Regions from separate parts of the Homo sapiens genome. Here region 1 is linked to region 2. Evidence: promoter capture Hi-C in human tissues and cell types (Jung and others, 2019). All regions are on one chromosome and are shown on one strand. Each heading gives the region's core, a stretch centred on a gene start or on the middle of the fragment in contact. The rest is flanking DNA. Distances are from core to core; before and after follow the strand shown.

Region 1 (2,700 bases), core at 106-2,605, 190 kb after region 2:
TTTTTTTTTAAGTGTAGCACATCATTAGTTTTACATTTATCATGAAATGAATTAGCCCATTTCACCAATAATAAACAAAGAGATAGAGCATTTAGGTAATTTTCCCAGAACCTCAGGCTTCTAAAACACTGTCCCACCATTCTATCAAGGAGCTTTTTTCTAAGATGTTTTCTTACCTGGTTTCAAAGGTGTGACAATAGCTTGCTGAAGATTAGCCTTTCTCAAAGGAGTTTTGCCCTGAAAAAGCCCTCCAGTTCCATTCTTCCCCAGTAACTTATTCTCCAAATTGGCCTTCTCCTCTGTGAAAAGGGAAGATCATCATTGTCTGATCAGCAAGGAAGCAAAACAAATCACTATCACGCATTTAAAATGCAAACTAAAGCTCCCTACCAGTACACTTCCAACTCATGTGGCAAGTACAAGCAAAGTTCTAGCAATCAAAAGAAAAAGTACACATTACACATCCGAGATAGACTATAAGAACAATCACTAAAAACTGGCAACATTGAACAATGTATTATAAAAAAGGAAAAGTACAGATTCTGCATTGTGAATAACTCCTTATCTTTGTTTGGTACACATTTAGGGTCATACAAATATGAACTGGCTTTATCTACTCCCTAAATATATCATGTTCCTCTTAAAGAAAACTGTAACCAGCCGGGAGCGATGGCTCACACCTGTAATCCCAGCACTTTGGGAGGCCGAGGCGGGTGGGTCATGAGGTCAGGAGATCGAGACTGTCTTGGCCAACATGGTGAAACCCCGTCTCTACTAAAATACAAAAAATTAGCCAGGCGTGGTGGCACATGCCTTTAATCCCAGCTACTTGAGAAGCTGAGGCAGGGGAATCGCTTGAACCTGGAAGGTGGAATTTGCAGTAAGCTGAGACCGCACCACTGCACTACAGCCTGGCGACAGAGCAAGACTCCATCTCAAAAAAAAAAAAAAAAAAAAAACGAAAGAAAACTGTAACCATCAAAAACTGTAGGGCTTACAAGAGATACTGTATAGTCTTACAGAGTTTCCTCCTCAGTGGGGTGGTGGGAGGAATAAGGGGTGTGTGAGGGTAGAGCAGAGCTAGGTTCTCTCAAGAAATTTTATCTTAGATTCTACTGTGCCCAGAAGTCAGTACAAAGCAGTGAAGGGTCTGTTCTACCAACAGCCTACTGATAGTTTCAGGAATGCAGTGAGACACAGCAATAACTACCCTGTGCATGTACATTCTGATTGCAACTGTGTAGAAAGATGTGACTATTTATTTGGGAAAGAAATTGGAAAGTAATATATTAAAACTGAGGTAGTTTTGTTAGCCAAAAGAACTCTGGCAAAAACAAAAAGAAAAAAAAATAAAAATGTTTTAAAACTAAGGTAGTTTTGGAAAAATAGTGGGGTCATTTTTTTTCTTCCAAATTGTATTTAACAGTATTCTTAGGCTAATCTTTTCTTTTCTTTTTTATTTTAAAGAAAAGCTTAGAAAAAGAAATCCTCAGACAGCCCAGCCATTTCCTTACAGTTCCAGTGAAGCAAGGGCATGGGGAAGATCCCCGCAGGACAGCTGGCCCTTGTATTTATTTACCCTTCCTCCCACACCACTTCCAACAGACGACTCCTCTCAGGATCCCCACTAGATGCCATTAAAGTCCTTTTCCAAAAAATGGCACCTGTCAACACATTTGGACAGTGCACTATACGGATAAGTACAGCTGCAATGGACTCACTTCTGTTCCCCACCACATATTCATAGTGATTTCTCCCGATAAGGAGGATGGAGACATGAGAGAAAGAATCAAAGGGGCCTCAACAACTAGTCTCAGATATTATTTCAAAGTAATGTAAAAATGTAACCACATTCTTACTTACCATTGGCCAAGCAATACTGTTTCTGGGAATGGGTTCTTAGTAGCATAATCCTTCCATTTAAAAATGAATTGAGGGCCAGGCGCAGTGGCTCACGCCTGTAATCCCAGCACTTTGGGAGGCTGAGGTGGGTGGATCACCTGAGGTCAGGGGTTCAAGACTAGCCTGGCCAACATGGCAAAACACTGTCTCTACTAAAAATACAAAAATTAGTTAGGCATGCTGGTGGGCGCCTGTAATCCCAGCTACTTGGGCGGCTGAGGCAGAACCGCTTGAACAAGAGTGGCGGAGGTTACAGTGAGCTGAGATTGTACCACTGCACTCCAGCCTGGGCAACAGAGCGAGACTACAGCCTCAAAAAAAAAAAAAAAAAAAATGAATTGAGGGAGGGGTGGCAGGAGGGAGGTGAGGGTAATTATAAAAGATCTTGACTGTGATGGTAGACACATAAACCAACACAGGTGATAAAACCACAGAGAACTTAATACACATACAAGTAAAACTGGAGAAATCTGAGTAAAACTGGTAGATTGTATGAATGTCAATATCCTAGCTGTGATATAATCTATCCCTAATGATAGTAGACAAAGTTTTTATGTGGCTGCCATCACTACAGACATATTTGAGCATGGAGTTTTGTTGAACACTGGTTCATCTGAACTTTCCCATAGGTCCCTAAAGCTTAAATCTGCCATTCTGAACTACAAAACAACATATGCTTTGTACTTACAATCCATTCCCCAAATACTGGGCATTTCAATTATTCCCATAATATCATGGATGACAGAATGTCTTGGTGCAGAAAGAAGTTGATATTTTAGTTCTTTTCTTGCAACCCCT
Region 2 (2,700 bases), core at 120-2,619:
GCTTGGTTACAAGAGGTCAAAAGGAGAGAATAAAACGCTGGAATCAGGGAGGCGAGACATCAGAGTGATAATATCGGTTCTGCTCTTTAGACTTTCAAAGTCCTTTCCCAGCGCCTTTTACAGCCATGTGGGCTCAATGCCTCCTTCCCTCTGACCTCCTGCCTGCTTCCCCCCCGCCCATTCTGTTCCACATACGCTGGCTGTTCCCTCTGCCTGGAACACTCTTCTCCTAGGCATCCACATGGCTCACCCCTCACCTTCTTTTCAAAGCCTTGCCTCTCTCTGAGGTTTGTTTTTTCCAGCTATCCAATGAGGAGTTTGGGCGTGAAGACCTCGTGGGAACCCTCTGGTTCTGATGGTAACCATTTTCCACCTGCCTGCCTTCTCTGGGAAGTCCTCCCAATCCTACCACCCACACCCACCTGCTTTTCTGAGCTAGCACTTCATTGCTTACTGCCCATAGTTTTCAAGTCCCTTCCTTATGTATAGGCCAGCTACTCTGGACATTGGGCCCAACACAGGGGCTCAAGTGAACTCTGGTTAAACGGAATTAAAAGTGATTACTGCTTCCTTTGTTTTTTGAGACAGAGTCTCGTTTTGTCACCCGGGCTGGAGTGCAGTGGTGCCATCATAGCTCAGGGCAGCCTCGACTCCCCAGATGCAGGTGCTCCTCCCGCCTCAGCCTCCTGAGTAGCTGGGACCAACGGGCGCGCCCCCCCTCACCCAGCTAATTTTTTTTTTTTGTATTTTTAGTAGAAACGGAGGTTTTACTGTGTTGCCCAAGCTGGTCTCGAACTCCTGGGCTCAAGTGATCCCCCCGCTTTGGCCTTCCAAAGTACTGGGATTACAGGCATGAGCCACTGCGCCCAGCTGATTCCTGCTTCCTTCCGATCCTGTGGAGAGACACTGAGGCGGATTTTTATTCACCCCCTTTTTATAAATTAGAAACTGAAAGTGTCAGAGATTAAACATAAGTCACACTGCCACATGGGCCTTCTTGGTGTTTCTTAGCCAGGGGAAGAATAATATTTCCCAGATCCTAATCACTACCTGCCACGGTATATAATTGTTTTGCCATTAATTGTCGGTGTTTCCCACTAGGATGAAGTTCCATGAGGGCAGGGATTTTGTTGTGTTCACTGCTGCATCCTAAGCACATAAAACTGCTTGGCACATAATAAGTGCTCAAGAAGCATGAACCGAGGGAGTAACGGGTCAGAGGCAGCCCGAGGACTGAGCTCTCTGAGCCTGCAGAGGGCGCTCCAGCCCCGCCCCCAAAGCTAGGCCCCGCCTCTCGCAGCCGGCTGGCGCACTAGTGTTAGAGCCTGCGCACCACCGTTCTTTTAACTGCGCAGGCGCGCCGGAAGCACCTAGAGAGCGGCGCGTGCGCAGCGGGAGTCGAAGCGGAGATCCCGGGGTCGCGCGAGAGCCGCAAGCGGAGTTGGTGGGCGCTATGCTATCACCCGAGGCAGAGCGAGTGCTGCGGTACCTTGTAGAAGTGGAGGAGCTCGCCGAGGAGGTGCTGGCGGACAAGCGGCAGGTGAGAGGCCCCTCCGCGGCGCTGGGGCCTGGCGGCCGGCGCCGTGGGAAAGCGCGCGGGGTCGCAGTGAGTTGACCTGGACAGGCGGTTAACGGCTCCGAGGCGACAGACCTGGGCCGATAAATATTCGGCCGCTACTAAGTGAGCGCCTGCGCTATGCTGGACATTCCTCTCTCTTCATCCTTTCTCTGCCCCTTGCCATGCTCTGTGGATCTCGACCCATCATGCTCTGGGCCGTTTCCCTGAGCACCTGTTTCAAAATGCACTTCCCGGCCCCATGGTTGATCTAGGGGCACCGCCCTGTAAAGGCCCTCAGGGGAGAGCTGGAACCGAAAAGAAGCCTGAGGGGGCCTTGTGACCGGGCAGGGGTGGGGACGTGGGGGAAGGTGGCGCCCTGTTTATGGGGTGTCTTGTTTTAAGTGCCAAGTTTTTGAGGGGAGTTCCTGGGGGAAGGAGGGTGACGTAATTGGATTTAGGTTTTAAAAGGATCCCCCCTGGCTGCTGTGTGGAATACAGAATATAGGTGGGCAAGGGCGGAGGCAGGGAGATGGGTGAGGGGCCATTGGTATGGTCCAGACCAGAGATGGATTTGGACTAGGTAGTGGTGGTGGAGAGAAGTGAAGGGGTCAGAAATGTATTTTGGAGACAGACTCAGTAGGCCGTGGTAGTGGAGCCGGGGGAGTCGTGACTCCCTCTCATCTCCAGTTAGAAGGGTCAGGTATTTACTGAGAAGGGGAAAACTTGGGCAAGATCCTGTCAAATTAAGTACTGGATCAGGGTGTGCTGGATGAGAATAAGAGCAGTTAAAGTTTATCAGCTACTTACTATGTGCCAGGTACTGTGTTAAGTCATTTAATTGCTGGCTCAATAACCTGTAAGGTAGGTACTGTCCGTAGCTCCATTTTGAGGAGGAGTAAATAGGAAGGTGAAATTACACAGCTTGAGGCAGATAGCAGGATTCGAACCTGGGTATTCCAAATCCAGAACCAGCACTCGTGCAGTATACTGTACTACTGCGTCACTTCCTTAGTAGCTATTGTGTTGTTACCACTGTCTCAGTGCCCCCAATCCTGCTGTTCCAATCTAGTATTGTTGGGTTTCTCATATTACTAGTTCAGAATCAGCTGGAGAAGTTTGTCCAAAAATAAACATTAGGCCTG

The links. Contacts are between HindIII fragments. The study calls those that stand out against the background at their distance.
Region 1: a contact is called between a fragment that was not itself captured here and the fragment with the promoter of PDRG1 in region 2, in 1 of the 25 tissues and cell types used here (small bowel).

Annotation. Positions count from the first base shown.
Region 1 is chr20:31,757,656-31,760,355 of GRCh38, reverse strand. It overlaps TPX2 (TPX2 microtubule nucleation factor), which reads right to left. Exons shown (of 18, transcript NM_012112.5): 4 at 177-299. Among named protein-coding and RNA genes, the nearest start is that of TPX2, 20 kb to the right of the region's middle. The HindIII fragment of the contact is 7,137 bases long and covers 1-2,700 here.
Region 2 is chr20:31,950,715-31,953,414 of GRCh38, reverse strand. It overlaps PDRG1 (p53 and DNA damage regulated 1), which reads left to right and starts at 1,369. Exons shown (of 5, transcript NM_030815.3): 1 at 1,369-1,540. The coding sequence starts at 1,454. The HindIII fragment of the contact is 6,454 bases long and covers 1-2,700 here.